4 separate regions of the Homo sapiens genome follow, and all the other regions are linked to region 3. Evidence: promoter capture Hi-C in 16 types of primary human blood cells and fetal thymus (Javierre and others, 2016). All regions are on one chromosome and are shown on one strand. The core of a region is centred on a gene start or on the middle of the fragment in contact, and the rest is flanking DNA. Distances in the headings are between cores, read along the strand shown.

Evidence for each region. Contacts are between HindIII fragments. The CHiCAGO score rates a contact against its expected background, and 5 or more counts as called.
Region 1: a contact is called between a fragment that was not itself captured here and the fragment with the promoter of UBE2A in region 3, in 4 of 17 cell types (activated CD4 T cells, total CD4 T cells, fetal thymus and 1 more). The highest score is 5.9, in activated CD4 T cells.
Region 2: a fragment that was not itself captured here is called in contact with the fragment with the promoter of UBE2A in region 3 in 2 of 17 cell types (naive B cells and activated CD4 T cells); the score reaches 5.9 in naive B cells.
Region 4: a contact is called between a fragment that was not itself captured here and the fragment with the promoter of UBE2A in region 3, in 1 of 17 cell types (neutrophils). The highest score is 6.3, in neutrophils.

Annotation. Positions count from the first base shown.
Region 1 is chrX:119,814,376-119,821,211 of GRCh38, forward strand. It overlaps a transcript of UPF3B not described here. Among named protein-coding and RNA genes, the nearest start is that of RPL39, 26 kb to the left of the region's middle. The HindIII fragment of the contact is 984 bases long and covers 2,450-3,433 here.
Region 2 is chrX:119,729,349-119,736,536 of GRCh38, forward strand. No RefSeq gene overlaps it. Among named protein-coding and RNA genes, the nearest start is that of SOWAHD, 26 kb to the right of the region's middle. The HindIII fragment of the contact is 2,420 bases long and covers 4,087-6,506 here.
Region 3 is chrX:119,571,555-119,578,324 of GRCh38, forward strand. UBE2A (ubiquitin conjugating enzyme E2 A) reads left to right here and starts at 3,009. Exons shown (of 6, transcript NM_003336.4): 1 at 3,009-3,201; 2 at 3,347-3,427; 3 at 3,821-3,846. The coding sequence starts at 3,158. It overlaps LOC124905208 (a long non-coding RNA gene), which reads right to left and starts at 2,941. Exons shown (of 2, transcript XR_007068307.1): 1 at 2,581-2,941; 2 at 1-749. RefSeq lists enhancers at 2,781-3,281, 3,282-3,782 and a silencer at 3,240-3,409. The HindIII fragment of the contact is 8,074 bases long and covers 589-6,770 here.
Region 4 is chrX:119,793,556-119,801,041 of GRCh38, forward strand. LOC107985694 (a long non-coding RNA gene) reads left to right here. Exons shown (of 3, transcript XR_001755949.2): 2 at 21-181. Among named protein-coding and RNA genes, the nearest start is that of RPL39, 5.7 kb to the left of the region's middle. The HindIII fragment of the contact is 3,385 bases long and covers 2,037-5,421 here.

The DNA.
Region 1 (6,836 bases), core at 1,692-4,191, 240 kb after region 3:
AAACTAATCCTAAAACTTGAGGATATTGGATACGGAAGTAACATGACTATTTAAATGTTTGCATCAATGAAAGTTTGTTCTATTCTTCCCTGTACTTGTACTACAAGGACATGCTTGTTGCTTCTATACTACCCAAAGTCAACAGTTATCATCAACAATTCAGTAGAAATAGATCAGAACAAGACTTCAAAGCGACTCTGCTCCACCAAAATTTAGAAACTCAATTTGGGATGAACAAAAGCTTTTGATTTTAGAACCAGCTCTTACTTTTCTCTCATGTCATATGTGATGAAGTCCTCACTTGACATTTCCCCCTGCAAATTGCAATGCATGTCCTTGCCATCATCTTTTTCTGACACTTTAATTTATAGAAATTGCAAAAGCAATGAAATTGTACTTCCAATTCTGAACCTCTGATCAGATTCCTGCTTTGAGGCAAAACTTACTCCTCTGCTGCACACTCCTCTACTCTTTTCTTTCTTTCTTTTTTTTTTTTTTTTTTTTTTTTGAGATGGAGTCTTACTCTGTTGCCCAGGCTGGAGTGCAGTGGCAAGATCACGGCTTACTGCAACCTCCGCCTCCTGAGTTCAAGCGATTCTCCTGCCTCAGCCTCCCGAGTACCTGGGACTACAGGCACCTGGCACCACGCCTGGCTAGTTCTTGTATTTTCAGTAGAGATGGGGTTTCACCATGTTGACCAGGCTGGTCTCAAACTCCTGACCTCAGGTAATCCACCCGCCTCGGCCTCCCAAGGTGCTGGGATTACAGGCGTGAACCATCACACCCAGCCTCTCCTCTTCTTTTGTATGGCTAATACAACTTTCCTGCTTTCTTTCTACTGCTGAATCTCCAGACTTGGTTATGTCATCAGGGTGCGAGAGTCGACCTTGGCTTCGAGCTCCTGGATGGTAACGCTGCATCCCTGGATGATTCTGAAGTACAATGAAATATGTTACTGTTACAACAATGCTGCTAAGCTTTTACGTGGGATTTTCAAGTCATAACTTATATATTAATATATACTAAAGTCCAGTCATTTAAGACCAAAAATGTGAAGGCATGGTAAATGACAACTTGCCCACTTCCTCTCTCCATTTCCAAAGAAAAGCAACCATTTCCTAATTATTATTTTATAAGCCTGGTACAACTTATTTTTCTTAGAGACATGGTCTCATTTTGTCACTCAGGCTGAAGTGCAAATGGCAAGATTGCAGCTCACAACAGCCTTGACATTCCAGACTCCAGCCATCCTCCCACCTCAGCTTCCTAGTAGCTGGAATTGCAGGCACGCTCTACCACACTGGGCTAAGTTTTAAAATTTTTAATAGAGATGGGGTCTCCCTATGTTATCCGGGCTGGCTTTGAACTCCTGAAGTTAAATGATTCTGCCACCTTGGCCTCCCAAATGCTAGGATTGCCTGCATAGACGAAGTTTCGCTCTGGTTGTCCAGGTTGGAGTGCAGTAGTGCAATCTCGGCTCACTGTAACCTCTGCCTCCCGGGTTCAAGCGATTCTCCTGCCTTAGTCTGCTGAGTAGCTGGGACTACAGGTGCACACCACCAAGCCCGGCTAATTTTTGTATTTTTAGTAGAGACGGGGTTTCACCACGTAGGCCAGGTTCATCTCCAACTGCTGACCTCAAGTGATCCACCTGCCTCGGCCTCCCAAAGTGCTGGGATTACAGGCATGAGCCACCATGCCTGGCCTATAGTTATTAAGGACATGAAATTATGCTTTATGAGGAAGTGGTCCTCACCCCCCTTGCCTGCAACACAAGAAAGGAGAGCAAGGGAGCAAAGTAGAAGAAAGGTGGCACTGGGGAAAGGATATCAATTCAAGACTGATGGTAAAAATTGCTTAGCAGGAGTGAAGGCTCTCCTGTGGTTTCACCAATTGATCTGCTTGAGGGATTTTCTCCAGCGACACTTGCAGCTTAGGGGCAAGAGGCTCCCACAACACCCTGTGCTACCGCGACCCTTCTGACATTGTGCATCATGATCTGATTATTGCTATTTGCCTCTTGCCAACACTGAAACATGAGTTCCACGTGCACAAGGACTTATTTGAATCCCTGACCCCAGGGCCTGGCACACAGTCAGTGATTGGTACATGTTTGCTAAATGAATGAGCAAATGGAAGAAATTGAAGAGGGTGGGGTGGGGATGGGTGATTTATCCAGAGCTGGACAGGCCAGGCAAGTAGAACAGAAGAGGGAGGTGCTGACATGAAAACAGGCTAGACAAAGAGGCAAGGATGTCAACTCATGCCTGGGGGTTCAGGAGTGTTGCTTCTCCTAAGGCCAACTCCTCTAACCTCTACCTTGGCTTCCATTTTCACCTGCCTTTGCAGGAAGCCTACAGTATTCGTTGTCTCTTTCTCTTGAGTATTCATCCTTGTAGAGCTTACCTTTTGGCTTCTAAACTTACTTACTTTCTCATATTTAAAATAAAGCTTCATTAACACCATTAACCTATGTATCTCCATTTCTTTCACAGCTATATTAATTGGTTTTCACACTAGTAGAAAAAATACCCAAGGCTGGGTAATATATAAAGAGAAGAGGTTTAATTATTTTATTTTATTTTTATTTATTTATAAAATAAATAAAATATGTGACGTAGTCTCGCTCTTGTCGCCCAGGCTGGAGTGCAATGGTGCGATCTCGGCTGACCACACTTCTGCCCTTCAGGTTTAGGCGCTTCTCCTGCCTCAGCCTCCTGAGTAGCTAGAATTACAGGCGGGCATAAGCACACCCAGCTAATTTTTGTATTTTTAGTAGAGATGGGTTTCGCCATGTTTGCCTGGCTGGTCTGGAACTCCTGACCTCAGGTGATCCACCGGCCTTGGTATCCCAAAGCTGGGATTACAGGGGTGAGCCACCAAGCCCAGCCGAAGAGGTTTAATTGACTCACAGTTCCACATGGCTGGGGGAGCCTCAGGAAACTTACAATCATGGCAGAAGGGGAAGTGGACACATGCTACATGGCAGCAGACTAGAGGTGAAGTGCGAGCATAGGAAAAACTGCCTTGTTTAAAACCATCAGATCTTGTGAGGCTTACTCACTATCACAAGATCAGCATGTGTGAGACTGCCCCAATAATCCAATCACCTCCTACCAAGCTCCTCCCTTGACACATGAGGATTACAGTTTAAGATGAGATTTGGGTGCGGGAACAGAGCTCAATCATATCAACAGTCATATGAGAAGTCTTCAAAAAGTCCATGGAAAATGTGTATTATCAAGAAACTATGCATGGATTGCAAAATCTTTTGGCATCAAAATAAACTGGTACTAACTCGTTAAAAAATATCTCGACAGGATCTAGTTTGAGGCATTAAAAAGGAGAAAGCATCAGTGTGAAAAGAGCTCCTATCAGCGAAAAATGGATTCTGCTAAAATTGAAGGAAGAACAAACATAAAATTTAAGATGAAGCTTGGGTGGAAGAACGGTAAAATCACTGATGCTTTACCAAAAGTTTATGGGGACAATGCCCCTAAAGAGATCAGCAGTTTACAAATGGATAACTTGTAAGAAAGGACAAAATGATGTTGAAGATGAAGCCTGCAGCAGCAGGTCATCCACATCAATATGCAAGGGAAAAAATTAGGCCAGGCGCAGTGGCTCACACCTGTAATCCCAGCACTTTGGGAGGCCGAGGCGGGTGGATCACAAGGTCAGGGGTTCAAGACCAGCCTGGCCAACATAGTGAAACCCCGTCTCTACTAAAAATACAAAAATTAGTTGGGTATGGTGGCATGAGCCTGTGGTCCCAGCTACTCAGGAGGCCGAGGCAGGAGAATCGCTTGAACCCAGGAGGCGGAGGTTGTGGTGAGCTGAGATCATGCCACTGCACTCCAACCTGGGCAACAGAATGAGACTCCGTCTTAAAAAACAACAACAACAAAAATCCTCTTCGTGCTTTAACTGAAAAGCATCGGCTGGGTGTGGTGGCTCACCCCTGTAATTCCAGCACTCTGGGAGGCCAAGGCGGGCGGGTCATCTGACCAACCTGGCCCACGTGGTGAAACCCTGTCTCTAATAAAAATACAAAAATTAACTGGGTGCGGTGGCAGGTGTCTGTAATTCCAACTACTTGGGAGGCTGAGGCAGGAGAATCATTGAACCCGGGAGGCAGAGGTTGCAGTGAGCCAAGATTGTGCCACTGGCCTCCAGCCTTCGTGAGAGACTAAGACCAACTATTAATGGCAGAAACAACAGCCATCACCATAGACATCACAATTGGTTCAGCTTACACAATTCTGACTGAAAAATTAAAAGTTGAGCAAACTTTCCACTTGATGGGTGCCAAAACCAGATCAGCTGCAGACAAGAACAGAGATTTCAACGGAAATTTTAAACAAGTGAGATCTATTACGTTGCTGCATATTAATTGTGGTTTATGCCATGGAATGTCAAAAGCCGCAATTACGTTGGCACCAACCAATAGATCATGAAGCATCTATTGGGAAAGTGTAACGGGAGGTGATACGTGGCTTTCCCAGTATGACTCTGAAGACAAAGCAATATCAAAGCAATGACTCTGAAGAGGTGGAAGAGATCCAGTCAAAGCAAAACTGGACTGGCCAAGAGCAAAGGTCATGGCAATAGTTTTTTGAGCTGCTTGAGCAACTCTCCTTATTGACTTTCTGGAGGGCCGAAGAATAGTAACACCAGCTTTTTTTTTTTTTTTTTTGAGACCAAATCTCACTCTGTCACCCAGGCTGGACTGCAGTGGTGCAATCTCGGCTCACTGCAACCTCTGCCTCCCAGGTTCAAGCTGTTCTCCTGCCTCAGCCTCCTGAGTAGCTGGGATTACAGGCACGCACCACCACGCCTGGCTAATTTTTGTATTTTTAGTAGAAACGAGGTTTCACCATGTTGGTCAGGCTTGTCTCGAACTGCTGACCTCGTGATCCTCCCATCTCGGCCTCCCAGAGTGCTGGGATTACAGGCATGAGCCACCGTGCCCGGCCAACACCTGCTTATTATAAGAGTGTTTTGAGAAGGCCAAAGCTTTAGCAGCAAAATGCCCAGGAAAGCTTCACCAGAGAGTCCTTTTCTACCACGGTAATGCTTCTGCTCGTGCCTCTCATCAAACAAGGGCAATTTTGAGAGTTTCAATGGGAAACCATTAGGCATCCACCTTACAGTCGGGATTTAGCTTCTTCTGTCACTTTTTTGTTTCCTAATTTTAAAAAGTCTGTAAAGGGCAACCATTTCTCTTCAGTTAATAATGTAAAAAAGATTTCATTGATGTGGTTAAATTCCAAGGACCTCCACTTCTTAGGGGATGGATGAAATGACTAGTATGTAATTGTTGTGAGCAAGAGACATACATACATACATAAATGGCTAGTTATCATTGCTTATGAAAGTGTCTTGACCTTGGTGGATCTTACGATGAGAAGTTTATATTTTTTTCTTTTATTTCTATTTTCCACAAACTTTTCTTTTCTATTTTTCCTTTTTTTTTTTTTTTTTTTTGAGATGGAGTCTGGCTCTGTCGCCCAGGCAGGAGTGCAGTGGCACGACCTTGGCTCACTGCAATCTCCGCCTCTTGGGTTCAAACGATTCTCTAGCCTCAGCCTCCCGACTAACTGGGATTACAGGAGCCCGCCACTGTGCCTGGCTAATTTTTGTATTTTTAGTAGAGACTGGGTTTCACCATGTTGGCCAGGTTTGTCTTGAATCCCTAACCTCAGGTGAAGTGCCCGCCTTGGCCTCCCAAAGTGCTGGGACTACAGGCATGTGCCACCTCAATCCCCTGCCTTTTTGTTGTGGGGAGGATGGAGTCTCCCTCTGTCGCTCAGGCAGGAGTGCAGTGGTGAGATCTAGGCTCACTACAACCTCTGCCTCCCGAGTTGAAGTGATTCTCCTGTCTGAGCCTCCTGAGAAGTTTGGACTACAGGTGTGCTCCACCAAGCCCGGCCAAATTTTTTTTTTGTATTTTTTGGTAGAGATGGGGTTTTACCATGTTGGCCAGGCTGGTCTCAAACTCCTGACCTCAGGTGATCCACCTACCTCAGCCTCCCAAAGTGCTGGGATTACAGGCATGTGCCACCAAGCCCGGCCTTTTTTTGGGTGTGGTGGTGAGGGGGGCAGATGGAGTCTAACTCTGTTGCTCAGGCAGGAGTGCAGGATTGAGATCTCTGCTCACTGGAACCTCTGCCACTCAAGTTCAAGTGATTCTCCTGCCTGAGCCTCCCGAGGAGTTTGGACTACAGGTGCGCTCCACCAAGCCTGGCCAATTTTTTTTTTTTTGTATTTTTTGGTAGAGATGGAGTTTCACCATGTTGGCCAGGCTGGTCTCGAACTCCTGACCTCAGGTGATCCAACCGCCTCAGCCTCCCAAAGTGCTGGGATTACAGGCATGAGCCACTGCCCCTGGCTTCTGTTCTTTTAAAAATCCATATAAAGCTGGACACGGTGGCTCATGCGTATAATCCCAGCACTTTTCGAGGCTACAGTGGACAGATTGTTTGAGCCCAGGCATCTGGCAAACAGATGCCATGTTAGGAAGGGCTGGCAGGATGAATGAAAATCAGGCAAAAGCTCAAGGATGTTGTCTAAACATTTTGTTCTTATGGGACCAGAACAGTTGATGTAGTTTTGAAATTTGTCCCCACCCAAATCTCATGGAAATATAATCCCCAGTGTTGTAGGTGGGGCCTGGTGGGGTATTGGGGTTATGGGGCGGATCCCTCATGGCTTGGTGCTGTCCTCTCCATAGTGAGTTCTTACAGATCAGGTTGTTGTAAAGTGTGGCACCTCCTTCCCACACTCACTCTCTTGCTCACTCTGTGATGTGACATGCCTGCTCCTGCTTCACTTTC
Region 2 (7,188 bases), core at 4,047-6,546, 160 kb after region 3:
GTGGTCCCAGCTACTCGGGAGGCTGAGGTGGGTGGATTACTTGAGTCCAAGAGGCAGAGGTTGCAGTGATCTGAGATCGCACCCCTGCACGCCAGCCTGGGAGACAGAGTGAGACCCTGTCTCAAAAAAAAAAAAAAATTGCTCATGCAAAGATGCAAAGTACTTAGAACTGTGGTTGCCTGGCATGGCACATAGTAAGTACCTGCTAGGTGTGAACCGCTATTGTTGTTGCTAGCTATGTGGCCTTGGGCATGTCACTTAACCTCTCACTTTGTCATTCAACCTCTCATTTAACTTCTCATCATTCATCACTTGATTAAGGATTCAAAGTGCCTTTGCCCGTACTAGGTATTCAGCAACACTCAGTTCCCTTGGTTCTTTATATGGTAATAATAGTATTTTACATATGAACACTTACTACACTCCAGGCAGCTCATCTATTACCTTCATCATCCTAGTTAATTATCAAGACAACCATATGAGGAAGTGACATTCGGAAGCAGGTATCCCTAGTTTACAGATGAGGAAACCAGGGTCAAATAGATTGCGATTGGCCCAAGGGCGTATACGAAATGGCTGAGCTGAGATTTTACAATCCTATTTCTTTTTCAAATACTGACACTGGAGTGGGTGATGACCAGTTGTTACTAAATCCAGTGGCTAATCCTTTATTGCTACATGGTTTAAACCGATTGTTGCTGCTAGCTGATGATGAAAGGCTTTGTAGCCTTCCTCCGAGTGGGAACACTTTGCTGCCCCCTTGTGACTCACCAAGTTTCTGCCTCCAGGTTCCCCGTTATTTGAAAAAATAAACAAATAAATAAAAGGCCCGGTGCTGCGACACACGCCTGTAATCCCAGTACTTTGGGAGGCCGAGGCAGGCGGATCATGAGATCAGGAGTTCGAGACCAGCCTGGCCAACACAGTGAAACCCTGTCTCTAATAAAAATACAAAAATTAGCTGGGCGTGGTGGCACGCACCTGTAGTCCCAGCTACTTGAGAGGCTGAGGCAGGAGAATTGCTTGAACCCGGGAGGTGGAGGGTGCAGTGAGCTGAGATTGCACCACTGCACTCCAGCCTAGCAACACAGCGAGACTCTGTCTCAAAAAAAACTTTTTTTTAAAATTAACTATCTTTTCTGGTACAGTAATTTCCCTCCAGAAAAGGTGTTGAGGTGTTGCCTGGGAGAGGCAAGGGAAACATGATTGGAGTTGAATTTTGTTTTGTTTTGTTTTGTTTTAATATAGAGGAGAAAATATAGGTGTCTCTCTTTTTTATTCTTTCTTTCTTTTTTTTTTTTTTTTTTTTTTTTGAGATGGAGTTTTGCTCTTGTTGCCCAGGCTGGAGTGCAATGGTGCGATCTTGGCTCACTGCAACCTCCACCTCCTGGGTTCAAGCGATTCTCCTGCCTCAGCCTCCTGAGTAGCTGGGATTACAGGCATGCGCCACCATGCCCAGCTAATTTTGTACTTTTAGTAGAGACGGGGTTTTTCCATGTTCGTCAGGCTGGTCTCAAACTCCCGACCTCAGGTGATCCGCCCACCTCAGCCTCCCAAAGTGCTGGGATTACAGACATGAGCCACCGTGCCCGGCCTAAATATAGGTGTCTCTTACAGCAACTAGGGGCTTCACAAAGGTGGCGACAGTGGGCTCTGGTCTTGAGGGATGACTAAAAGTTTTCCAGGCAGGCTAGGAAGGGGAAGGACATTCTGAGCAGAGGGAACAGCATGGGCAAAAGCACGGAGATGTGATGGAGCATCTCGGGATTTTAAGCGAGGAGAGCAACATGCTTAGATTCATTCATTCTCTGATTCAACACATATGTGTCACATACTGTGCTGGGTGGTGACAATGACGGTAGTGAAAAACACCAAGTCCCTAAAATTATGGAGCTTACTTTCTAGGGAGGTAGATTTGAAGCAAATGCAAGTACGAGATGCCTCTGGATAAAAACAAAGCAGGGGATGGGAACAGAGAGGGACCAGAGGGTGTTATTTTCAACAGGGTGGTCAGGGAGGCCTTCCCTGAGCAGGTGACATTGGAGCAGGACTGAATGAAGTGGGGGAGCCTGCTTCATGAGTGAACTGGGAAAGATCACACGAGGCAGAGGGAACTACAGGTGCAAAGGCCCTGAGGTGGGAGAGTGTTCGGTGTGATCAAGGAGCCAGAGGCGGGGTGGTGGAGGACTGGAGCATCCTCAGTGCAGGTCGGGGTGGGGATGAAGTTGGTAGGAGAGGGAGGAGGTGAGATTGCAGAAGACTCAGTCATGTTTTCATGGAGGACCTTGTGAGCCATGGCAAGGAGTGGGGATCTCATTCTAAGAAGGGCAGGAAGTGTTTGCTGAGACTGTGTTGAGATGTGAGAGGAAAGAGAGGCATTTAGATGGCTGGCAGATTTTCACCCAAGCAACTAGGAAGACTTCACTATGGATGGGCTAAGTTTGAGAAGCTTATTAGAGCTCCAAGGGGAGCTGTCAGCAGGCTGCTGGACAGCAGCTGGATCTGTGTGTCTGGAATTCAGAGGAAGGATCGGAGCAGCAGGCGTCTGTGCAGAGGGGTCATTGAAAGACCTGGATGAGATGAGATTCTCAAGGGAGCGAGTACATAGAGACAAGTGGACGAGGTCCGAGCCCCATGGCTCCCCAATCTCCAGACTCTAGAGGATGGAGCCAGCAGGACCAGCAGAAGGAAGGCACTGAGGAATGACTGACTGGCTAGGGAGCTCAAAGGAAAACCAGGAGAGCTGGGTGTCCCAGAAGCCAAGGGAAGCAGGAGTTGCAAGGAGGATGGGGTGATCGACAATGTCCAATGCTGCTGAGAGGGTCCAGTAAGGTGAGGACTCAGACCCAACTGCTGGATTTGACAGCATAAAGGGAGGGCATGGATGACCTTGGTACACTCTAGCTTCATGGGCATGTGATCTGTGTAGTGGGACAGGGCCCCACTCTTAGCAGGGTCCTGCAATTGGTCTAATGCACTTCTGAGACCCTGTTGAATTTTTTTTTTTTTAAGACAGAGTCTCACTCTGTCGCCCAGGCCGGAGTGCAGTGGAGCAATCTCAGCTCACTGCAACCTCCGCCTCCCAGGTTCAAGCGATTCTCCCGCCTCAGCCTCCTGAGTAGCTGGGATTACAGGCATGTGCCACCAGACCCAGCTAATTTTTGTATTTTTGGTAGAGACAGGGTTTCACCATCTTGGCCAGACTGATCTTGAACTCTTGACCTTGTGATCCACCTGCCTCGGCCTCCCAAAGTGCTGGGATTACAGGAGTGAGCCACCGTACCCAGCCCTGTTGAAATTCTTAATACCTTTCTGCAGTGAGTTGAATATGGAACCTCTCTCAAAACATATATCCATCCAGAATGTGACCTTATTTGGAAAAGGGGTCTTTGCAGATGTAATTAAGGTAAAAATGTTATGACGAGATTGTATTGGATTAGGGCAAGCCCTAAATCCAATGACAGGTGTCCTAATAAGGGAAAAGAAAGGGAAAAGACACAGAGAGGTGACATAAAGACATAGGCAGAGGCCGGGCACCGTGGCTCACACCTGTATTCCCACCACTTTGGGAGACTGAGGTGGGCGGATCATCTGAGGTCAGGAGTTCGAAAACAGCCGGGCCAACATGGTGAAACCCCGTCTCTACTAAAAATACAAAAACTTAGCCAGGCGTGGTGGTGGGTGCCTGTAGTCCCCGCTACTCAGGAGGCTGAGGCAGGAGAATGAAGTGAACCCGGGAGGTGGAGCTTGCAGTGAGCCAAGATCGTGCCACTACACTACAGCCTGGGTGAATCCATCTCAAAAACAAAAACAAAAACAAAAAACAAAAAACAAAAACAAAACAAAAAAAAAATTAGCTGGACGTGGTGGCACATGCCTGTAATCACAGCTACTCGGGGGGCTGAGACAGGAGAATCACTTGAACCCTGGAGGCGAAGGTTGCAGTGAACTGAGATCGCGCCACTGCGCTCCAGTCTGGGCGACAGAGTGAGACTTTGTCTCGAAAAAAAAAAAAAGACAAAGGCAGAGATTGGAGTGATGCATCTACAAGCCAAGGAGCATGAAGGATTGCTTGCAGCCATCAGAAGCTTGAAAGGAGGCCGGGTGTGGTGGCTCACGCCTATAATCCCAGCACTTTGAGAGGCCAAGGCGGGTGGATCACTTGAGGTCAAGAGTTCGAGGCCAGTCTGGCCAATATGGTGAAACCCTGTCTTTACTAAAAATACAAAAATTAGCTGGGCGTGACAGCGCATGCCTGTAATCCCAGCTCTTCAGGACGCTGAGGCAGGAGAATCGCTTGAAGCTGGGAGGCGGAGGTTGCAGTGAGCCGAGATCCTGCCATTGCACCCCAGCCTGGGTGAGAGAAAGACTCTGTCGCAAAAAAGAAAAAAAAAAAGAGGCCGGATGCAGTGGCTCACGCCTGTAATCCCAGCCCTTTGGGAGGCCAAGGTGGGCAGATCACGAAGTCGGGAGATCGAGACCATCCTGGCTAACACGGTGAAACCCCGTCTCTACTAAAAATACAAAAAAAATTAGCCGGGCGTAGTGGCGGGCGCCTGTAGTCCCAGCTACTCAGGAGGCTGAGGCAGGAGAATGGCATGAACTGGGGAGGTGGATCTTGCAGTAAGCCGAGATCGCACCCGTGCCACTGCACTCCAGCCTGGGTGACAGAGCGAGACCACGTCTTAAAAAAAAAAAAAAAAGGCCGGGCGCAGTGGTAATCCCAGCACTTTGGGAGGCCTAGACAGGCGGATCACGAGGTCAGGAGATCCAGACCATCCTGGCTAACACGGTGAAACCCCGTCTCTACTGAAAGTACAAAACAATTAGCCGGGCGTGGTAGCGGGCGCCTGTAGTCCCAGCTACTCGTTAAGGCTGAAGCAGGAGAATGGCGTGAACCCGGGAGGCAGAGCTTGCAGTGAGCCAAGATAGCGCCACTGCACTCTAGCCTGGGTGACAGAGCGAGACTCCGTTTCAAAAAAAAAAAGTGTTCACATCCAAGTTCTCATTTGATCCTTCCAAAAGGCCTATGAGGTAATAAAGTAATTCCTTTCATGTCCATTTTTCAGATGACAAAATGGAGGTTCAGAGAGGTTAAGTAATCACTCAAGGTCACACAGCCAGTGACCAGCAGACCTAGAACTCCGATCACAATAAGATCTTTACCCCTCTTCGTGGCTGCCCATTTTAGCCAGCTTTTTTTTTTTTTTTTTTTTTTAGACGAAGTCTCACTCTAGCCCAGGCAGGAGTGCAGTGGCATAACCTCAGCTCACTGCAACCTCCACCTCCCGGGTTCAAGCAATTCTCGTTCCTCAGCCTCCCTAGTAGCTGGGATTACAGACACACAGCATCACGCCCAGCTAATTGTTGTATTTTTAGTAGAGACGGGGTTTCACTATGTTGGCCAGGCTGGAACTTTTGGCCTCAAGTGATCTGCTTGCCTTGGCCTCCAAAAGTGCTGGGATCACAGGTGTGAGCCACCTCACCCAGCCTTTAGCCAGCTTTTGACGCACAACGAGTGGGGGTAGCAAATTCTTGGGCATGTCCGCTTACAAATGTGGAACCCAATGTTTCTATGTGGGGTGGTGGTGGGGAGGTGGCTGCTCCTCTAGCAACAGTGATCCAGGCCAGCCCTTGGCAGGACTTCCTCACCAGAGTCGGCTGCAAAGCCAGCCAGCTGGCAGCCGGCCAGGCTCATAGAGTGAACCCACTTGGAGCCGAGAGCCCCACAGAGGGCACAGCAGGGGCATGAGGTCCAACAAACTCAGGCTGTGTGTGCTTCTGCCCCAGAGAATACAACGGCACTGGGAGAGACAGCAGCCACAGCTTCCCGAGAAGCACTGGAATCCTAGGAGCGGCTGCCGGGCAGGGGCAGGCAAGGCAGACAGATGGAAGAGTGCCCAGGCTGCATCATGGTAGCAGTTTGAGGTTCTGTTGAAGGAGGGAAGTGACAAGCTGGGCTGAGTGACAGGCATGGATGAGAGGGCAGACCAGGCTCTGGAGAAAACAGCACATGAACCCATCTTTAGTGACAGTGAACTGAGCAGAGAAATGTCACTTTCAGGCCTGGAAATGGCCAGGGAGGCATAATAGTGACTCCTGCAGGGGGCTTCTCCTCAACCGGGAGCTGGGCGTCCAGGGCAAGGTGGCCAGGCTTGTGCCATCTCAACTACTTGGGAACAAATAGACTTGGCACTCTATGTTTAGCCACCAAAGTCAAGACCAGGAGCCCCGAAGTCCCATCCCCCAAGGAGCTGAGGAGCCCAGATGCTAGAAAGAGGGCCACAGGATGAGCAGGGCCAGCAGCTGCCTGGCAGGACATCTGTCACAGCCCATTGGGCAGCAACCAAGAGGAGTGCGGAGGCTACGCGGCCCCATTTGCTGAAGGGGAGGGCTGCAGACTGCTCATCTGGGAGAGGGACAGATGAACCCAGAGCCAGCCAAGGAGGTCACAGCCCAGTCAGATCACAAAACAAAACAAACCAAACCCAGCTCTCATTAACTGAAGCTTGGCACATGCTGGGCATTGTGTGATGTGCTGTCTTTGGAAGAGCTGCCTTAATTCGTAGGATAGCTAAAGTGTAATTATTATGTGATTACACCTTATTATGTAATTATTAGACAGAACCCACTTGGAGCTGAGAGCCCCACAGAGGGCACAGCAGGGGCGTGAGGTCCAACAAGCTCAGGCTGTGTGTGCTTCTGGCCCAGAGAAGACGACAGCGCTGGGAGAGACAGCAGCCACAGTTTCTCTAGAAACACTAGAATCCCAGGAGCAGCTGCTGGGCAGGGGCAGATGAGGGGGCAGGTGTCATTATCATGACCTCCACTTTATAGATGGGGAAGCTCAGGTACAAAGAAGTAAAGTGCCTTATATAAGTCACGTAGTTAAGTCTTCAGGCTGAGATTCAAACCAGGTCTGTCTAACTTTAAAGCCTGTTTTGTTCACTCTCCCTGGCAGGGCTATTATAACCATTACATGAAATAAAATATGATATTAGTAATAGTGAAGGCAGCCGGGCATGGTGGCTCACGCCTGTAATCCCAGCTAAGATGGGCGGATCACGAGGTCAGGAGATCCAGACCATCCTGGCCAACATGGTGAAACCCCATCCCTACTAACTTACAAAAAAAAAAAAAAAAAAAATTAGCCAAGCATGGTGGCGCAGTCCTGCAGTCCCAGCCACT
Region 3 (6,770 bases), core at 1,759-4,258:
TTCTTTTTTTTTTTTGAGATGGAGTCTTGCTCTGTCGCCCAGGCTGGAGTGCAGTGGCGCGATCTCTGCTCACTGCAAGCTCCACCTCCCGGGCTCACGCCATTCTCCTGCCTCAGCCTCCAGAGTAGCTGGGACTACAGGCGCCCACCACCACGCCCGGAGAATTTTTTGTATTTTTAGTGGAGACGGGGTTTCACCATGTTAGCCAGGATGGTCTTGATCTCCTGACCTCGTGATCCACCTGCCTTGGCCTCCCAAAGTGCTGGGATTACAGGTGTGAGACACCGCGCCCGGCCAGGATATTTTCAATACATCTCTCTCATGCTCAAACACCTATAAAAGCTGCCTAAATTCCCCATTCTCGCATTTGAGGGCATTTAATCAACTTCTGTCACCCTCACTTTTCCTAGCTGAGGTCTCATCATTCCCCAGCCAAGAACCTGTCCATTAGCCAAGCTCATCTGCCCACGGGTTTAGCTCCATGCCCTTGTCTGTGCCATTGCCCCCATATAAACTGCTTAAGTTCTTCTCTCTCAAGCTCCGCTTTCATCTCTGTTGAAACAAAATTGAAATACACCCATTTCAGGAAGCTTGTCCTGATCCCACCAGAATGACGATTCCTCTGCTGTGCAATCTCTCAGCATCTGTGGTTTCACACACTTCTACAAGTTGAGGATCTCAAATCTGAAAATCTAAAATCCGAAATGCTCCAAAACCTGAAACTTTTATAATGCAAATAATTCCAAAATCTGAAAAAAAAAAAAAAAAAAAAAGGAAATCTGAAACCGTTCTGGTTCTGCTGTTGCTGTCGTAGGCAGACTTCTAAGATGCTACCCTCCCCTGAGATTCTTGGTCCTTGGTATATACACACACTTTCTCCCAGTTATTAAATGAAATACTAATCTAGGTTCTGCAGTGAAAAAATTTAGCAGACATAATAAAGGTCCCAACTTAGATGTTTTTAACATAGGGAAATTATCCATGGGGTGGGCCTGACATAATCTGATAAGCCTTTAAAGTAGACTGTGCTCTTCCTGAAAACAAGATTCAAAGAGTGAGAGGGATGTGGTGGGAGAGAAATTCTCTGTTGATGACTTTGAAGATGGAGTAGGCCACTTGGCAAGGAATGCAGGCGGCCTCTAGGAGCTGAGAGTAGTTCCCAGGTGGCAGCTAGTAAGGAAATAGGGACCAAAGTCCTACAACTGCAATGAACTGGGCTTGGCCAACAACTTGTAATTTGTTAAGCAGTGATGAAAACGAATATACTTGCTTTTGTAGATCTTGCTTTTGTTGATTTCATATGTGTGTATGTGTGTGTTAGTAGACTGCAAGTTCTTAGATGAGAGGAAAAAAAGTTTTTTTTTTTTAATTTTTGTACCCCCTTCCTACTACAGCCATAATGTGATGCTATTAGGGAGACTTGCCTTAACTGATATGTTGGAGTTAATGGGAGATAGAAATCCTTGACCATGAAAGTACCTGTTGTTAAGCAGCAGCTAGAATCACTACCATTGTCAAGTGCCTCCTGCTTCTCATGTTAGAAACAAATTCCTGCACATCTGATATCTTCTGGACATCTTCACGGGGATGTCTCACCAGTCCCATGAACTCAGTAAGTCCCACCCAAAATTTCCTTTTCCAAACTTGTCCCTCTCTCTCTATTCTGTAATTCTGTTAATGGCACCTTCAAAACCCCAGTTATCTCGGGGCTTAGAGTTTCAGCCACTGTTGACTCCTTCCTCTCTCTTGCCCCATATTCAGCCTGTTGCCAAGTCCTCCCCATTCATTCATATCCTCGCCTTTATTGTCACTGCCTGCTTCAGTATCTCGCACCTAGATACTGCAAGAGTCTCCTGCCTGCTCTCTTGAGACCAATCTCTGATAAGGACAGCTCTAATGATGTCACTTCCCTGCTCAATGGACTTCCAAGGAATCCATTAGCTTGGCATTCAAAACTCTTGATGACTTAACCCAAATCTACCTTTCTCCTATTTTCAATAATTTTTAAATGTGTATTATGCCTATCTTCTAAGTTATTTTGGGTTGACCTTTAAAAATTATCCTTTAAAACTGTTATTGCTTTTGCAGGTCCACGGACTGTGACTCTTCCTGCAACCTGCAGCTTTTCCACGTTCCTTTTACTTCAGACCCACTGTCCTTGCAACTCCCTGCAGTCGGATAGTCTCATATCTTGGACTCTTCTGAACATAAATAGCCGCTTGGCTTGTTGAACTACCAAGGGGAAATGTGGTTCCAGAGCCAAATTGTGAGTGCCCAAAACAAAACAGAACAAAACAAAACCCTACTCCGCCTGCCTTAAGCTCCCATTCCCTCCCACAGGACATACAACACTATTTCATTCTGCCCTGGGGTGATCATTGGCCTAAACGTTGAGCGCCCAATCCTGCATTCAATCCCACAGCCCCGCCCCGCCCCCCCGTCATAGTCAAGGCCGATTTATTCTTTTGATTTTCCGTGATTTTAACCAATCACTCCTCTCCCCACCCCTCCGACCCCAGTCTCCGGTGTCCGAAGGGGTTGTGCACCCTAGAGTTGCCGCTTTTTGAGAACCGGTTTTACCTCCGCCCACTCCTTCGTCCTCTAGTTTGGGACTTCCAAACTTCTCCCCTCTCCTCCCCGGGCATAGTGCGCGCTTTCATGAATGATCTGGTCACAAAACAAACAAAAACGAATAGAAAAAGAAAAAAAGAGAAAAAGAAAAAAAGCCGAAAACTTCCCAGGGTTTGCCTTAGAATTAGCAGGTGGGGATGGACCCCGTTCCACCACGAGCTCCTCCAGCGCCCGGGGCTCCGGCGTACCCTACGCCTCTGCGCTCGCGGCCCCGCCCCGGGCCTCCCGTGGGGCTTTAATGACATAAGCAACTTTCCTCGCGCACCCCCCGCCCCGTCTTGGTACGGCCTGTCCGGCGCTCGACGTTCCACCCCCCTCTCTCTGCTCTCAGGTTGGTTCAGCCCCCGTCTACACTGGGGTGGTGCTTAGCCGGCGCCAGACCGACCCTCGACTTCGGAGAGGCAGCGCGGTTCCTCTGGGTGCTTCCGCCTCCCCTTCTCCTGCTTCTCCAGCCTCTTCGGCCTCCTCGCCCGCCGCGGGAACCCGAGACCCCAGTGTATGCCCCACCCCTGACCCCGCTCGCGACATGTCCACCCCGGCTCGGCGGCGCCTCATGCGGGACTTCAAGAGGTAAACCGAGGGGACGGCCGAGGCCGGGGGTTGCGAGCTGGGGCACAGGGCGGGTCCCGAGGCGCGCCGGGCGGGGAGGGCTGGGGAGCGGCCGGGAGCGGGCGCCAGTGCCGGCCTAGGGGGACCCCTGTCTGTCTTCCCGAAGGTTGCAGGAGGATCCTCCAGCCGGAGTCAGCGGGGCTCCGTCCGAGAACAACATAATGGTGTGGAACGCGGTCATTTTCGGGTGAGTCTGCGTTCGTGGCGGTGGCGAGAAAACTGGGGACGCGAGCAGCTTCGGTCTGCGCTCCGGGGCGGGCCCCCCGCGGAGGCCGAGCGGGTAGGGGAAAATGTTTGGGTCTGGCTGGGCCTAGGCGCCTCCCCGGAGCCTGTGCCTCGATTAGCTCAGTTCCCGCTGCCAGGGGGAACCGCTTGGGGTTCTAGGGGGGCGGGGCGGGGAGTGGTGGCGGTTAGGCGCGGCGGCTTGCCCTGTGTCTCTGAGCCCGGGACATCCATTTGTAGTGGCTTCCGACCCCGGTAGCGGTGCTGGAGATGGCAGAGCTCGGGATAGCCATCTCAGATGAAGCAGGGAGAAGGGGGCCCCTTAAGTGGGAACTGACCATTTTTCTCTGTGTTGCAGGCCTGAAGGGACCCCGTTTGAGGATGGTAAGAGAGAGTTTCTTTACCCACTTTTCAGGAGCCTGGTCATCTGGGGAAAGGGTTCCCAGTCATCCTGGAAGTGTCTCCTGCTTAGGAACCTGCCTCTGCCTAGCCTCTGTCTGCTAAAGGCTTGAGTGGAATGCAGTGTGTGGCTGGTGGTTCTGGATATTGTATGCTTGACTAGAACTGCACCTTTCTTCTTGCTTTCTTAAAAAAAAAATCTGTGTAAGGCAGTCACTTTTTAAAAGGAGCAATCATAGCACTGGTATTAAGGATTTTTGAGGCTTGGGCTGTAATTCTGCTAAATTCAGCCCTCCATCACTGAATTAGTATAAACCCAACCAGTTGCTGATAGGCAGCAGAGACCCCAGAGACCATCTGGTTCAGAATTCTACCCCAAGGGCAGGAGTTGTGTTCAGCAGGTGCTTGGTAGATGTGTGTTGGATGTTGAGTGGATGCGAGAATCCCTTGCGTACAACTGTCTGGTTTCTACAATCTGACATTGAATGCCTGTCAGCCTCACTGCTCTAAGATGGTCTTAAATGCCTCATTTGAGTACAGTATTCTTTCTTATTTTTAAGTGAATTTGCAGTGTGTGCTTTCATCAAGACGTTATGATGAGTAATTTCAAAGCAGCTTCACAATTGAAGTTAGCCTTAATGTACCCTTTTGATCAGTGTCCTGCCTACCTGAAAGTACTACATGTACCAGTAGGTACATAATTTTTAATTGATTTAGGTTTAACTTTTAAAAACACGTGTAAATTGCTTTTTAAAAACTTTCTGATTTTAGATAATTATAGATTCATATGCAGTTGCAAGAAATAATAGAGACACCCTTTATACCCTTAACCCAGTCCTCTACCCAAACCCTCCCATTTGGTAACATCTTGAATGACTAGACCCTATCACAACCGGAAAAATGACACTGATAGTTCTACACTCAGTTGTGTGTGTGTGTGGTTGTTTTTTGAAAGTTTAATACATTTAAAGGATGATTAAAGTATTTGAACTCATGAAATTCTTTAATATTTGAGGTTTTAAAAAAAAGGAAAAGGATCTTTCTGTTATTTTTTTCCTCAATGATTTCCTTCGGTCACATAGCATTTATACACACACACACACACACACACACTTCAGTTTGAAGGTGGGAACAAAAACATTTCTGCAAACTACTTAATACATACTTATGTTGCTGAGCCGGATTGCTTTTTGATGCTACCAGTCCACAAAATGTTGTGAGGTAAGTCAATTTCAACTAAGTCTGTAATTCATCTCAAGTACTTAGATTTCCCCAGGAAACTGTGGACAGTCACCTGAATATTTTTAGCTTCCTCTTTACCTTTACCCCCTGGGTAAATATCATTACTCTTCAGGGCTGCAAAGAAAAGAAATGACAGCAGGAAACAGTGATTGTAAGGGCATACTACTTTGGCGCAGTTAATCATTTGAACTGATTTGTAGCAAAAAACTATAGCTAGACTTAATTTTCTTCTACCAGATTGGCACTAGTTTTTTTGTTTGTTTGTTTTTTGTTTTTGTTTTTTTGAGACGGAGTTGCGCCCTGTCACCCAGGCTGGAGTGCGATGGTGTGATCTCGGCTCACTGCAACCTCCGCCTCCCAGGTTCAAGCGATTCTCCTGCCTCAGCCTCCTGAGTAGCTGGGATTACAGGTGTGCGACACCGCGCCCGGCTAATTTTTTGTATCTTTAGTAGAGACGGGGTTTCACCATGTTGGCCAGGCTGGTCTCAAACTCCTGACCTTGGGATCCACCCGCCTTGGCCTCCCAAAGTGCTGGGACTACAGGCTTGAGCCACCGCACCCGGCGAGCACTAGTTCTTTATACCTGAGCTTTAAATGTACAGATTAACTGTGTTTGCTTTAGCTCTAGTAGGCCTTGTTTTCATTGGCTTCTTTTTTCCTCGTTTTACTCTGTTTTATGCTGGGCACAGCTTTATTAATAGTACATCACTTTGCTGGGGATTGGCTACCTAAATATTTCAAGGGTGCTTCTCTTAAGTGGTATGAATTGAAAAGGTACTTACAGAGTCCATTATCTACCAGGACTGTCACCTTTGACATTACTGGTTCTATTTTTGATGATGTGTATCTCCATCCTAGCATTACTGAAAGGAATTACTCAGGCTGATTTGTTCTGTTGAACAGTCTGCTACCGATGGATGCTTCCTCAGGTGTCTGGAACACTGTGGCCTGTGGTTCCCCCACAAAAAAAATTTTAGCTTTTTTTTTTTTTTTTTTTTTTGAGATGGAGTTTTGCTCTTGTCACCCAGGCTGGAGTGCAGTGGCACGAGCTCAGCTCACTGCAGCCTCTGCCTCCCAGGTTCAAGCAATTCTTCTGCCTCAGCCTCCCAAGTAGCTGGGATTGCAGGCACCTACCACCATGCCCAGCTAATTTTTGTATTTTTTAGTAAAGAGGGGGTTTCACTATGTTGGGCAGGCTGGTCTCGAACTCCTGACCTGAGGTGATCCGCCCACCTCGGCCTCCCAAAGTGCTATGATTACAGGCATGAGCAGCCGTGCCCAGCCTTAACCATTTTTTGAATACCCTTTATTTATAGTTGGGGAATTTACAGTTAGAGAAAAGACTGATTAGGGATAAGTGGCATAGTTGATTTTGCTGTTTCCAATGTATTATGTTATTAATTAAGAACCCCAAAACTACTTTTGCTTCTTTGTTGTAAACCGTTCGTTATGGAAGTTTCTGGAACAACCAGGTCCTAGTTAGAGTGATGAAATCTTAAGACAAGCAACACTTAAGGGTATTTTGGTTTAACTTCACACACTCGAAGTAAGAGGAATATATTCTCAAGAGCTTACACTACCAAAACATTGGGGAGAAATGCTTCCTCATCAGAATATCTTGGTATACATGCTAAATACAAAGGTTATGGAATATAATCTTCATCACA
Region 4 (7,486 bases), core at 2,479-4,978, 220 kb after region 3:
ACCTTTCTTATGGCTCCTAGCACTATCTGTTCTGTTGCAATGCAAAAGGATGAAAGTAACAGTGGCTGCTGCTTATGGGGCTTGATAGTTACTATGTAGCTGCATGTATTAATTCAAGCCTCACTGTGAGCTTACCATGTTTTACCAGTGACCTTTTGAATCTTCACCAGAACACTACAAGGTAAGTATGGTTAATCATCCTCATTTTACAGAAGAGGGAACTGCAACAGGGACAGATTAAGTTGTATACCCAAGGTCACACAGCTACTATGTTGCACAGCCGGTACTCAGACTCAGGTAGTCCAGGCTTCAGAGTCTGTGCTGTCACCACTACCCTCTACTGCCTTTTCAACACAGATTTTGGGAACCTACTCTGTCTGGTTCGGGTCTTCGTGTTGGGGGTACAGAAGCAAACAAATCTGACCAAAAATCCCTGCCCTCTTGGAGTCTTGTGGCGATGGTATGGTTCTGGATTTTTTTGTGGTGGGAATTACACAAAGCTACACGTGTGATAGAATTTGCCAAGTGTGGTGACTCACGTCTGTAATCCCAGCACTTTGGGAGGCTGAGGCGGGCGGATCACCTGAGGTCAGGAGTTCGAGATCAACCTGACCAACATGGTGAAACCCCGTCCCTACTAAAAATACAAAAATTAGCCAAGTGTGGTGGCGCGCGCCTGTAATCCCAGCTACTCAGGAGGCTGAGGCAGGAGAATGGCTTGAACCCGGGAGGTGGAGGCTGCAGTGAGCCGAGATCGCGCCACTGCACTCCAGCCTGGGTGACAGAGCGAGACTCTGTCTCAAAACAAACAAAAAAAATTAGCCGGGCATGCTGGTGCGTGCCTGTAGTCCAAGCTACTCAGGAGGCTGAGACAGAGAGAATTGCTTGAACCCAGGAGGTGGAGGGTGCAGTGAGCCGAGATCACAACACTGCACCCCAGCCTGGGTGACAGAGTGAGACTCTGTCTCAAAAAACAAAAACAAAAAAACAAAAAAAACAATTCTATACAACTCCCCCCTGCCCACCCCTGCCCCAAGGGGCATATGTATAACTGGTGAAATCTGAATAAGCTCTGTGGACTGTGCCAACGTGAATTTCCTGGTTGTGATATTGTACTATAGTTATGCAAGATGCTAACACTGGGGAAAACTAGATAAAGGGTACACAGGGCCTCTCAGTCCCTTTCTTTGCAACTTCTTGCGAATCTATTGTTATTTCAAAATACAAGTCTAAAAAAACTCTGCCTTCATTGAGTTTAATTATAGTGGGGAGTTAGACAACAAATATGTAAATTACATGGCACATCAGAAGGAGGTGTCATCAAGAAAAGCAAAGCAGGGGCCAGGTGCAGTGGCTAACACCTGTAATCCCAGCATTTTGGAAGGCTGGGGAAGGAGGAATAGTTGAGACCAGGAGTTTTAGATCAGCCTGGACAACATAGTGAGACTCTCTACAAAAAATACAAAATTTAGCCACTGGATGTGGTGGCACGTGCCCGTAGCTCCAGCTACTTGGAAGGCGAGAAGGGAGGAGCGCTTGAGCCCAGGAGTTCGAGGCTGCAGTGAGCCATGATTGTGCCACTGCACTCCAGCCTGAGCAACAGAGTGAGACCCTGTCTCAAAACAAACAAAAAATTGAGGGCTGGGCGCGGTGGCTCACGCCTATAATCCCAGCACTTTGGGAGGCCGAGGCGGGTGGATCACGAGGTCAGGAGTTCGAGACCAGCCTGACCAACATGGTGAAATCTCGTCTCTACTAAAAATACAAAAAATTAGCCGGGTGTGGTGGTGGCGCCTGTAATCCCAGCTACTCGGGAGGCTGAGGCAGGAGAATCGCTTGAACCCGGGAGGTGGAGGTTGCAGTGAGTGGAGATCATGCCACTGTACTTCAGCCTGGTGACAGAGGGAGACTCCGTCTCAAAAAAAAAAAAAAAAAAATTGAGAAAGGGTGGCATGAAAGGTAGAAGGAAAACCAGCAAGAAGTGCTCTTTCTAAAAGCAGTAAGAATTAAAAGGATAATTGACATAAGCACTTAAAAGCTTATTTGCTGCTGCTTCTGGTCACCAGAAAGAAAATGCTTGCTCTTAAATAAATGAGCAATAAAAATCCAAAAAATCCAAGTTAAAAAATGTATATTTGGAAAAATGGCCGGGCGTGGTGGCTCCCACCTGTAATCCCAGCACTTTGGGAGGCTGAGGCGGGTGGATCAACTTAGATCAGGAGTTCGAGACCAGCCTGGCCAACATGGCAGAACCCTGTCTCTACTAAAAATACAAAAATTAGCCGGGAATGGTGGCACACCTGCAATCACAGCTATTCAGGAGGCTGAGGCAGGAGAATTGCTTGAACCTAGGAGGTGGAAGTTTCAGTGAGCCGAGATCGCACCATTGCACTTCAGCCTGGGCAACAGAGTGAGACCCTGTCTCAAAAAAAAAAAAAAAGTTGGAAAAAAATAATGCAGCAATAAAAAATAATACAAATATAGACAGGTGTGGCAGCATGCACCTGTAGTCCTAGCTACTTGGGAGGCTGCGGTAGGCAGATTGCTTGATCCCAGGAGTTCAAGTCCAGCCTGGGCAATGTAGTGAGACCCTATCTCTAAAAATAAATACAAATGAAAAACAATACAGTATAATAATTATTTACATAGCATTTACACTACATTAGGTATTATAAGTAAACAAGAGATGACTTAAAGTATACAGGAGGATGTGTGTAGGTTATATGCAAATATTACATAATTTTATATAAAGGACTTGGACATCAGTGGGTTTTGGTATTAAAGAGATCCTGGAACCAATCCTTCATGGATACTGAGAGACGATTATATCTGCAAAGGTGTAGATGCTAAGAACAGGTATCCAGGGCCTCCCAGAGCCAGCCTAGGAGTCTGAGCTTTATCCTGGGGACCAACAATTTGCAGACTTCTTTTTTTTTCTTTCTTTTATTTTTATTTTTTTGAGACAGAGTCTCGCTCTGTCGCCTAGGCTGGAGTGCAATGGTATTATCTCCACTCACTGCAACCTCCACCTCCCTGGTTCAAGCAATTCTCCTGCCTCAGCCTCCCAAGTGGCTGGGATTACAGACACATGCTACCATCCCCAGCTAATTTTTGTATTTTTAGTAGAGATGGGTTTCACCATGTTGGCCAGTCTGGTCTCAAACTCCTGACCTCAAGTGATCCACCCGCCTCAGCCTCCCAAAGTGCTGGGATTACAGGCGTGAGCCACCACGCCCGATGTAGTTTGCAGACTTCTTTAACAGAATGGCTCTTTGTTTTAAAAGCCATTTTATATAGAAACTCACCATTGACTCTTCTCTGTTACACCCTTAATCCAGTCTCAGCAAATCCTGTCAGCTGTCTCAAAAATGTTTCTCGAATTCAGTGCTCATTTCCCCCACCGTCGTTCATCTCTCACTTGGATTACTGCAAAATCCTTCAAACTCTTCCCCCTTCTTCTGGCCCTGCCCCTCTACAGTTTCTTCTCAACACAGCAGTCAATGACCCTGTTAAAACCTAAGCCTGATCATGTCACTGTATTTAGTGGCTCCTTTTTATTTTTCATTTTTTTGAGACTAAGTCTTGCTCTGTCACCCAGGCTGGAGCGCAGTGGCATGATCTCAGGTCACTGCAACCTCCACCTCCTGAGTTCAAGTGATTCCTGTGCCTCAGCCTCTCAAATGGCTGGGACTACAGGCACATGCCACCACACCCGGCTAATTTTTGTGTTTTTAATAGAGATGGGGGTGTATGTTGGCCATGTTGGTCTTGAACTCCTGAGCTCAAGGGATCTGCCCCCTTCTGCCTCCCAAAGTGCTGGGATTGCAGGCATGAGCCACTGTGCCTGGCCTATTTAGTGGTTCTTAATGGCTCATTTCACTCCAGTAAATATCTAAGTGCCCCAGCCTGGGCGACATAGGGAGACCCTGTCGCTACGAAACGTTAAAAAATTAGCCGGATGTCGGGGCACACACCTGTGGTCTCAGCTATTCAGGAGGCTGAGGTGGGAGGATTGCTTGAGCCCGGAAGGTCAAGGCTGCAGTAAGATGAGATCACACCACTGTACTCCAGCCTGAGTAACAGAGCAAGACTCTATCTCCAAAAAAAATATAAAAAGAAGAAAAAAATTAAAGATTCAAGTTCTCACAACAGGCATACGCTTCCACATCAGCCCCTTCCACCTCACCTCTGTGACCTTATCTCCCACTGCTCTCACCATCAGTTCACTGGGCTTTGGCCATACTGGGCAGTTCTCAGCTCAGGGCCTTTGCACTTGCTCTTCTCGCTACCTGGAAGCTCTTCCCCTAGATGTCCCCACGCCTTCATGGCTTCCTTCATCAGTCTCCTTAGGTCTTTTTTCCAATGTCACCTCAGTGAGGCTTTCCCTAACCACTCTATCTATCTAAAATTGCAGCTCGGCCGGGCGCGATGGCTCACGCCTGTAATCCCAGCACTTTGGGAGGCTGAGGCGGGCAGATCATGAGGTCAGGAGTTCGAGACCAGCCTGGCCAACATGGTGAAACCCCATCTCTACTGAAAATACAAAAAATTAGCTGGGCATGATAGTGTGTGCCTGTAATCCCAGCTACTCAGGAGGCTTAGACAGGAGAATTGCTTGAACCGGGACTCGGGAGGTGGAGGTTACAGTGAGCTGAGATCATGCCACTCCACTCCAGCCTGGGAGACAGAGGGACACTCTGTCTCAAAAATAAAATAAAGTAAAATAAAATAAAATAAAGTAAAATTGCAAACCCCAGGTCGGGCGCAGTGGCTCACACCTATAATCCCAGCATTTTGGGAGGTCAAGGCCCAGCATTCTGGGCTTGAGCCCAGAAGTTTGAGACCATCCTGGGCAACATGGTGAGACCTCCGCCTCTACAAGAAAAATGCAAAGATTAGCTGGGTGTGGTGGCACATGCCTGTAGTCCCAGCTACTCAGGAAGCTGAGGTGGGAGGCTCACCTGAGCCTGGGGAGTTCGAGGCTACAGTCAGCAGTGATTGAGCCACTGCACTCCAGCCTGGGTGACAGAGTGAGACTCTCTCTAAAAAAAATTTGCAACCCCTGGCCCCCACTCAGCACTCCCTACCCCTACTACTGCTTTATTTTTCTCCATATTACTTACCTGAGATAACATATATTTTATTTATTGTTTGACTCCCTGCCTAGAATGTAAGCTCCATGAGGTCATGGATTGTGTATTTTGTTCACTGCTGTATTCCCTGAGCCTGGAACAGTGCCTGACACATAGTAGATGCGCAGTAAATATTTGGTGAATGAATGAACAAACGCTAATACATCAAAGAGACAACATCAAAGAACAGACTCCACAGGGCAGTTTACATCTTCATTGTTTGGCCCGACCCTTCTTGTTTGAGGGTGGATTTTCAAAATTACTGCTGAAGGCAATTGGGAGCCTTGAAAGCTTTTAAAGGGTAAGAGTAAGTGGCAATTATATATTTGTTGTTGTTGATGTTGTTGTTTTTGGAGGCAGGGTCTTGCTCTATCACCCCGGCTGGAGTGCAGTGGTATATTCTCAGCTCCCTGCAACCCCCACTTCCCCGGCTCAAGCCATCCTCCAACCTCAGGCCCCTAAGTAGCTGGGACTACAGGTGCGTGCTGCCAACCCAATTTTTTGTATTTTGGTAGAGACGGGGTCTCACCACATTGTCCAGGCTGATCTCGAACTCCTGACTTCAAGCGATCTCACCTCGGCCTCCCAAAGTGCTGGGATTACAGGCATAAGCCACCGTGCCTGGCCAATTATGTAAGTATTTTAAAAAGATCCTTTGGCCAGCTGGAGAGTAGATGGGGATGGGGACAATAGTGGAAACAAGAAGGCTCGTGGGGGCGGTTGTTAAAATTATGCTTTTTTTTTTTTGAAACAGAGTCTCGCTCTTGTCGCCTAGGCTGGAGTGCAGTGGCACGATCTCGGCTCACTGTAACCTCCGCCTCCCAGGTTCAAGCAGTTCTCCTGCCTCAGCCTCTGGAGTAGCTGGGATTACAGACACCTACCACCATGCCCGCTAATTTTTGTATTTTTAGTAGAGACGGGGTTTCGCCATGTTGGCCAGGCTGGTCTCCAACTCCTGACCTCAGGTGATCTGCCCGCCTCAGCCTCCCAAAGTGCTGGGATTACAGGCATGAGCCACCACGCCTGGTCAGCAAACTTTTTCTGATAGTAAATATTTTAGGCTTTGCAGATGACATACAGTGTCTGTTGCGACTACTCAACTCTGCTGTTGCAGGATGAAAGCTGCAGGACAATATGTAAATGAACGGTGTGGCTGGGTTCCAAGAAAACTTTAGTTACAGATACTAAAATTTAAATTCAATAGAATTGTCATGTGTCCCAAAATATTCTTTTGATTTTTTTCAACCATTCAAAAATACAGAAACCATTCTTAGCTCTCAGGCTGTACAAAAACACGCAGTGGCCAGGTTTGGTCCATAGGCTGTAATTTGCTGAGCCTAGGCCTAGATAATTATGTCAAGACTCTCCTCTCCCTCCTCAAACCTGCAACCCTTCTTCCTCCATTCTCACACTCAGTTGAGGACCTGGCTTCCTAGTCACTGAGAAAATTTAAGCAATCACAAGAGAACTCCCACAGCCCATCCACACATGCTATCTGCCAACACCTCCACGTGACTATTCCCCCATCCCTCTGTTACTGTGAATGAAACGTTTGAACTATGTCCGGCCTGTCTGCTCGCTTGTGCCCTAGATCCAAACCTCTCTCGCCCATTCAACAACCCTGCTCTGACTAGTCTTCCCTTTCTGTCCTTGCTGTTCACTGCATTATTCCCATCAACATACAAATAAATATGCTGTCATCTTAAAAAAGCTGCTTTTTACTCCAACTCCCTTGCCAGCTACTTCTTCTTCTCCTTCCCTTTACAACAAAACCCTGGTAAAGATTTGTCTTCATTCACTGTTTCCAACTTCTCTCCCATTCTTTAAGTGAGATACAATTCACGTAATATGAAAATCACCGTTTTTTTATTTTATTTTATTTTTGAGACAGAGTCTTGCTCTGTCAGGCTGGAGTGCAATGGCGTGATCTCAGCTCACTGCAACCTCGGCCTCCCGAGTTCAAGCGATTCTCCTGCCCCAACCTCCCAAGTAGCTGGGATTACAGGCATGCACCACCACACCCAGCTAATTTTTGTATTTTTAGTAGAGGCAGGGTTTCACCATGTTGGCCACGCTGGTCTTGAACTCCTGACCTCAGGTGATCTGCCCACCTCGGCCTCCCAGAGTGCTGGGATTACAGGTGTCAGCCACCGCACCGGCCACTATTTTATTTTATTTTATTTATTTTTGAGATAGAGTCTCTGTCACCCAGGCTGGAGTGCAGTGGCATGAACTCAGCTCACTGCAACCTCCGCCTCCTGGGTTCTAGTGATTCTCCTACCTCAGCCTCCCAAGTAGCTGGGATTACAGGCATGTGCCACCACGCCTGGCTAATTTTGTATTTTTAGTGGAGA